Linked DNA regions of Homo sapiens: region 2 is linked to region 1. The links are contacts of gene promoters, found by promoter capture Hi-C in human tissues and cell types (Jung and others, 2019). All regions are on one chromosome and are shown on one strand. Each heading gives the region's core, a stretch centred on a gene start or on the middle of the fragment in contact. The rest is flanking DNA. Distances are from core to core; before and after follow the strand shown. Region 1 holds the start of KCNH4 (potassium voltage-gated channel subfamily H member 4). Region 2 overlaps STAT5B (signal transducer and activator of transcription 5B).

Evidence for each region. The method cuts DNA at HindIII sites, captures the fragments that hold promoters and counts their contacts. A contact is called where the count stands out against the background at its distance.
Region 2: a fragment that was not itself captured here is called in contact with the fragment with the promoter of KCNH4 in region 1 in 3 of the 25 tissues and cell types used here (IMR-90 fibroblasts, bladder and hippocampus).

Annotation. Positions count from the first base shown.
Region 1 is chr17:42,179,092-42,183,023 of GRCh38, forward strand. KCNH4 (potassium voltage-gated channel subfamily H member 4) reads right to left here and starts at 2,051. Exons shown (of 17, transcript NM_012285.3): 1 at 1,779-2,051. The coding sequence starts at 1,854. RefSeq lists an enhancer at 444-1,011 and silencers at 1,961-2,200, 2,207-2,482. The HindIII fragment of the contact is 13,187 bases long and covers 1-3,932 here.
Region 2 is chr17:42,252,879-42,256,677 of GRCh38, forward strand. All of the region lies in intron 1 of STAT5B (signal transducer and activator of transcription 5B), which reads right to left. Among named protein-coding and RNA genes, the nearest start is that of STAT5B, 22 kb to the right of the region's middle. The HindIII fragment of the contact is 4,124 bases long and covers 417-3,799 here.

The DNA of each region.
Region 1 (3,932 bases), core at 801-3,300:
ACTTCCTCTAAGTTGGGGTTAGAAGTCACAGAGCCAGAAGCTTCCCAGGTTTCCATGTTGCTCCTGACCCCACTTTGGGATATTCTGAATTGAGAATTGGAGAAGTTGGAGCAAAGAGACAAGGACTTGAGACAGGACTTAAGCAGGGTCTAACGGGGAGTTGGAGAAGGACCCCAGGAGGTCATGCCATCCATCCCCCTGCCTTCCAACTGGTGAGCTGTCACTGTAGAAGGCAGTATAGCATGGTGAGTAAGAGCCTGGGCTCCTGCAACCCTCCACTGCCACTTACTAACTGTGTGACCTTGGGCAAGTTGATGACCTCTTCTGTGCCTAAGCTTTCCTTATTTGCAAAGTAGGGCATAATAGGCCTTCCTCACATGGTCGTTGTGAGAGTTACATGAGTTAACTTGGGGAGAACAAGTCCTAGCACATGGTAAGTGCTACTCTGAGAAGGTGAAATTTTTTCCCCACATTCACTTGGCTTTCTTCCTATTACAGAGTAAGCAGGGCAGAGATTCTGATGACACCACACCCATTTATTGATAGGAAACCAAAAGGCAGAGATTATCCAAACTCACAGATCTCCTTAGTGTGGGGGCAGACAGTGATGAGTGCTGTCTTCCTTCCCTGCCTTCCAGAGAAGGTCCACTTTTTAGCATTCTTGTAGCTGCTTTCAGGGGATCTGCCCCACTGCTCAAAGTCTAATGGGAGAGGGCATTGAGCGTATAGCTCCAGCAACCCCCAGCAGCAGAACCCGAGCTGTCTCCCTCCAGCTCCAATGGGTGGGAGGCCAGGGGGACTCCTGTGGGCCATCCAGGGACAGAGACTCAGCTAAGAGATGGGGCCTGTGACACAACCAGTCCTGGTGCTCTAGGAGGGATGACTGTCTGGGGGCAGGGAGGCTGATGGGGACACTGAAGGTGCCTGGGAGGCACTGGGCTCTGGGCACAGCCTCCTTCTTCCATCCCAGGGCCTGTTGCCCCGGTGATGGGCGCTATGGAAACAAGGTGGTGGGGAAGAGGGTAGGGCCCGGCGGCTCAGTTTCCGCCCTCGGGTACCGCTCCCCCACCATCCAGATCCCGGCCAGGGTTCCCGAGGGAATGGCGGGGTTGGGGGAGGTGAGGGCGGGGAATCTCTGGGTTCCAGAGTGGGAAGAGGGAATGGCGGGAGAAGAGGCGGGGGAGGAGTGATGTGGCTGTCCAAGGTGCTGAACCTGAAACCCAAGCTACGTTGGGCGAGCTGGGAGTTCCCACCGTCGCACAGACCGCTCCCCTCCTCCTGCCTCACCCACCTTAGACACTGACGCCCCACGATTTGGGGGCGCGCGACCTCAATCCAAACTAGGTCCTGCTGAAGTCTGATCTTTTCTCCTTTTTTTCTGGAGGTAGTGGGAGCTGGAGTCTGTGAGTAGACCCCAGAATGCCCGGCCACTTTGCCCCACTTCTGTGTCTCGGATACCCCCATACACGCCCCCAGCACAGCTCTGCCCGAGAGTGGGCGGCTCCGAAGGACCCTCCTCCGCTCTGCCGCACAAAGAGCCTCTTCTGCCTCGAGTCACACCCCCTAACCTTGGCCCCCGTGCTCTCGGCCCTTTCCCCTCCTCCCCTCGCAGGGCACTCCCCGCCCTGTTCCTGCACCGCGGCTTTGGGAGTTCCTAGACCCGCACCTCCATTCTCTCCCCTCGCCTCGGGTCTCACCATGTCCAGGAGATCCGAGACGGCCCCGAGGATACTTGCCCCCCAGCTCGAACCTCAAGCCCCGACCTCCGTCCCACTCACGCGTTCCGTCAAAACGGGTGGCGATGGTGTCCAGGAAGGTGTTTTGCGGGGCCAGCAACCCCTTCATGACCGGCATGGCCCCGGGGCGTGGGTTCAAGGCGCGGCGCTGGGGAGCTTTCAGCGCGGCCGGGCCGGAGGGGGCGCGCTGTCGGAGGGGCCGGGGCGCCCCATGCGCCCTCCTGCCTCCTCCCCTCCCTCTTACTGCCGCTGCCGCTGCCGCTGCCTCTGCTCCGAACCCCGTAGCTCTCGGCTCGGCTCAGCGCCGTTTCGGTCCCCCCCACCTCCCCACGGGCCAGGTTCTTCCCCTCGGGCTCGGCCCGCACCCGCCACGTGGCCCCACACGGGGAGGGGCCGCTAGCGACACCCGCACCCCTCTGGGCAGCCCTCCTCCCAGAGGGGAGCGGCCCACGCGTGTCTCTCGGGGAGAGAATTCGGGGCACGCCCACCGGGAGGGGAGGCCTGAAATGATGGGCGGGGCTTGAATAACAGACCCGCCCTCTTCCAGGCTGGCCACGCCTCCACACGTGGTTCCCTGGCTGCTCCTTGTGGCTCCACCTCGCGGGTTTTCCCGCGCGGCGTCCACGCTGGGCTGGTGTCTGGTTCACAGTGCCGCCTACTGGAGTTGACATATTTCGCAGCACCCACAGGCCAGTAGCTCCAGCGTGAGACAGCAAGGGTTAAGAGGCTAGTTTGCTGGTAGAGAATGGACAATGGGAAGGCTTGAAACCCCAACTCTAGAAAGCACCATTCTTACCTCCTGCCTCAGTTTTCCCAAGACACCCTGGCGAACTCTGCCTACTGAGACACAGCATGGTGGAATGAAAAGAGCTTTGGAGTCCACCAGGTAGAGTCCCAGCTCTAGACACCAATCGTGTGATATCCTCTCCAAGCCCACTTTCCTCATCTGTAAAATGGAGCTGATAATTCTTACCTGATGCAGTTACCGTGAGAATGTAATACCATAATGCATGTCTTTGGTACAAAATAAGTGTCTTGAAGGGCAGTTGCCTGCCTGTTTTCCCTCTTCCTACTGTCTTAATCCTCCTCTCTGCTGCCCTTCAAGTGGAAGAGAGGCTGGAGGCAAGTTTGGGAGAAACTACCTCTGAAAAAGATAGTTTCGAGGTGGGCAGAGTCATGGCTTGCAAATCTCCAAGGATGCACATGTGAACTTTGACCTCTAACTTCTCCAAGATGGAACCAGTACAGCAGCAAGAGGGACCAAAGTGAGACTAGACACAGGACTTTCTCACTACCTATGCAGAAAATTGAGGCAGCTGAGTTCTGTGGCTGAGGGTGGCTGCTTCCCACGACAAAACAGCTGAAGCAGTGAAAGTGGGAACCCTATGGGCAAGGAGGGCAGGCTAAATTCTCCCCACCCTCTGAGCTAGGTATTATCTGGGATGTTAGATTGCTAAGAAGTGCCACATTTTTCTGTGTCTCTACTTTTGTTGTTGTTGTTGTTCTTGTTGTTCTTGTTCTTGTTGTTTTTGAGACGGAGTCTTGCTCTGTTGCCCAGGCTGGAGTGCAGTGGCATGACCTCAGCTCACTGCAACCTCTGCCTCCTGGGTTCAAGCAATTCTCCCGCCTCAGCCTCCTTAGTAGCTGGGATCACAGGCGTGCATTACAATGCCCGGCTAATTTTTGTATTTTTAGTAGAGATGGGGTTTCGCCATGTTTGCCAGGCTGGTCTTGAACTCCTGACCTCAAGTGATCCGCCCGCCTCAGCCTCCCAAAGTGCTGGGATTACAGGCATGAGCCACGGAGCCTAGCCTGTGTCTCTACTTTTGGATGTTATATTAGTTTCCTAGGACTGCCATAACAAAGTACCACAAAGTGAGTGGCTCAAACAACAGAAACCTATTGTCTCACAGTTCTGGATGCTAGAAGTCCAAGCAAGGTCAGGTGAAGAGCGTTGGTTCCTTCTGAAGGCTATGAGGGAGAATCTGTTGCATGCCTCTCCCCTATCTTCTGGGGGTGGGGGTGCTGGCAATTTTTGGTGTTCCTTGGCTTGTAGGAGCCAATCTCTACCTTCATGTTCACATGGGTTCTCCCTGTGTGTGTTTCTGTGTTCCAATTCCCTTTTTTATAAGGACGCCAGTCACAGTGGATTAGAGGCCCACCCTACTCTAGTATGACCTCATCTTAACTAATTGC
Region 2 (3,799 bases), core at 1,229-3,728, 74 kb after region 1:
AAGCAAACTAACCTTTCTTTTAATTATATCTCAAGAAAGAAGCTGAGTATAAACGAAAAGCACATTTGTCAACAATTCACTCATTCAGTTACCATGTATGCCACTAACTACAATCCAGAAAGATTTATGATTGTGCCAAAACAAGATGATGAGGTTCTATACCCAGAATGTAGATTAATGTTAGAAGGATGACTCAGGACTTATGGCATCAGTCTGATAGACGTTGAACCTTTCTTTCTTTCTTTCTTTCTTTCTTTCTTTTTTTCATCTCTGTGAGTTCTTCAACTACAGGACAGAATGCCAACTCAGGAAGATAATTCAGTAAACACAGCCACCTTTGACTACAGACTATTTTTTATCCAAGATGTATTTCCATGTAGCAAAGTAAATTTAGCAAATGAAAATATAGTCTTGACTTGCTATGGATGTCCCCTATCTCTGCCAAAAATGACAAGCTGCTTGCTCAAAAGCTGTCACTAATTAGCAGCTGCTGCTGTAAAGAAAACCAAAGTAAGTGCCAATAAAAGCATATTGAACTCAAAGAGGGCCCTATGACAAGAGATGGGAAATGCAAGAATCTATTTGTGACTAGTAAACTTACATAAATACTAGCAATCTAAATTTGGGAGATGTAGGGGCAGGGCAATAATGGCAATACATATCCATTCATATTTAAACAGGAAGGACTGAAAGAGTCTCCTAACATCCTGAAAGTCAGAAATACCAAGGTATTGGTGTTGCTGAATTCCATCACAACCATTTCCACCTTTCCAATAGGAGCCAGTCTTGGTTTTGGATGATGATGATTATTTTTAGAGACAGGGTCTTGTTCTGTGGCCCAGACTGGAGAGCAGTGGCATGAACACAACTCATTGCAGCCTGTGACTCCTGGCCTCAAGTCATCTTGCCACCTTTGCCTCCCAAAGTGCTGGGATTACAGGCGTGAGTCACCGCGCCTGGCCTGGTTTTGGATAATTTCTCATTGTCAATACTTCTGTCTCTGGCACTTTAACAACTGCATTTGTAGACATTGTAAAAATAAATTTTAAAAATAACTTTCATATTCTATGGGCTTCGGCCTAAACTCTGATGGTTCCGAATCTACCTGTTGACCCCTCATGTTATAGGTTGAAACTATGAAGTCAAGCAGAAGTGATCTGCCCAATGTAAATGAGCACAGATACAGTGGTAGAAAATCACTTTACTAGCCCTATTTCAAGAGGCTCTAAAGGAGTCCACAACATCCCAGCACTTTGGGATGCTGAGGCAGGAGGATCACTTGAGGCCAGGAGTTCAAGACCAGCCTGGGCAACACAGCAAGACCTCATCTCTACAAAATAAAAATTAAAAAATTAGCCAGGCGTGCTGGTATGTACCTGTAATCCTAGCTACTCAGAAGGCTGAGGTGGGAGGATGGCTTGAGCCCAGGAGTTTGAGGCTACAGTGAGCCATGACTGCACCACTGCACTCTGTCTCTTAAAAAATAATAATAATAAAGTAGTCTACAGCCCAAGATCCTGCTTTAAAGCTAAATTCCATAGATTACTTTTCAAATCATCCTTCGAAGCTGTCCTCTCTTTGTTCCTATCAGTCAGAACTCCCAGTATATTTCTCTTTTTCCTCAACAAGTTAGTTTCTGTCCTTAAAAAAAAAAAAATTAAGAATATTTCCCCTTCATTTTGGTTCTCTTACTCTCTTTTTCTCTCTCCCTCCAGGTGAACTGCTAGAGAGCTATGATTGTTTCATCTATATTTGGACCCCTAGGGTCAGGCTGTGTCTTCAGCAACTACTCAGAAAAATGAGAATGAAAAAGAAAGAAAAAAGGAAGAAAGAGAGAGAGGGAAGGACAAACTGGAAGGGAAGGGAAGGAAAAGTAGGGAGAAAGGAAGATGTAATGAGAATAGAAAATTTTTAAAAATGGAAAAAAAAAGAAGGTCGGTGCGGTGGCTCATGCCTGTAATCCCAACACTTTGGGAGGCCTAGGCAGGCGGATCACGAGGTCAGGAGATTGAGACCATCCTGGCCAACATGGTGAAACCCTGTCTCTACAAAAAATACAAAAATTAGCTGGGTGTGGTGGCATGCGCCTGTAGTCCCAGCTACTTGGGAGGCTGAGGCAGGAGAACCACTTGAACCCAGGAGGCAGAGGTTGCAGGGAGCCGAGATCGTGCCACTGCACTCCAGCCTGGCAATGGAGCGAGACTCCGTCTAAAAAAAAAAAAGTTTCTTAACTGTCGTTTCTTAATGACACGCAATCAGAACCTCCCCTGCAGCTGAGGTCCCCTGTGGAGAGTATGTCTCATTGTCTGTATAAACAATTACAACAATGTACCTGTAATTTTCCAGTTCATAATCAGGCTGTAAGAATGAGAACAATTTGTTTTATGAAACATGGAGAAAGACTAATCTTTGCTATTACTCTCAGTGCAGGTTTATCAGCAAGACTTGGAGTAGATAAGCCACAGGCATACAGATGAGGAATCACATTTTGAAAGCTTTAATAACTCCCTAGTGGTATGCAACAAGCTGCTGAATTAACTTGTCTTTGCATACTCATTGCACATGCATCACTGGCCAGGTCTAGGTACAAAGCAAAAACTAAACAATCAAAGGAAAGAAAAACTGTGAAGTCTCCAACCAAAAGAATTATGTTGCAAAAAAAGGAATAAACACAAAGGGGCAGATAGTGTATGATTCCACTGATATAAGATGCCTGGAGTAGTCAAACTCATAGAGACAGAAAGAATGAATGGCGGTTGTCAGAGCCTGCGGGGAGGGGCAAATGGAGAGTTTTATTCTCATTACTGTTTAATGAATACAGGATTTTAGTTTAGGATGAAAAAATTCTGGAGATGGACCAGGTGCTGACGGTCACACAACAATGTGAATGTGCTTAATGCCACGGAACTGTACTTTAAAACAGTGAAAATGGCCGGGCACAGCGGCTCGCGCCTGTAATCCCAGCACTTTGGGAGGCCGAGGGCGGTTCACCTAAGGTCAGGAGTTCCAGACCACCCTGGTTAACATGGTGAAACCCCACCTCTACTAAAAATACCAAAATTAGCCAGGCATGGTGGCGTGCACCTGTAATCCCAGCTACTCAGGAGGCTGAGGCAGGAGAATTGCTTGAATCCAGGAGGTGAAGGTTGCAATGAGCTAACCTCCAGCCTGGGTGACACAGAGAAACTCCATCTCAAAATAAAAGGTTAAAAATGGTAAATTTTATGATATATATACGTAACTCCACAATCTTTAAAATGGGGTTAAAAAACCAGTTTTTGCCTAATAAACTCACATTTTTTCTATCTTTAATGCTGAAATCCAAAGGAAACAAAGAGATATTTGCTGTCTCCTCTCTCTTCTCCCCCATCCCCCCAACTTTTTTTGAGACAGCGTCTCACTCTGTGGCCCAGGCTGGTCTCTAACTCATGGGCTCAAGTGACCCTCCTGGCTCAGCCTCCCATAGTACTGGGATTATAGGCATGAGCCACTGCACCCAGCCCCCTCTCTTTTCTTTCTTCCACAGTAAAAGGCACACTTTCAGTCCTTCTGAGGGTTGAAGTTCTCTGGATACACCTGCTGTATTGAGATTAAAGGGGAATACAATAGTCTTTCCTTATCTGAGATTTTGTTTTCTATGGTTTCTGTTACCCACAGTACAGCATAGTAAGATACAGTATTTTAAGATAGACTACATTCGGCCAGGCACAGTGGCTCACGCCTGTAATCCCAGCATTTTGGGAGGCTGAGGCGAGCAGGTCACGAGGTTAGGAGATCGAGACCATCCTGGCTAACATGG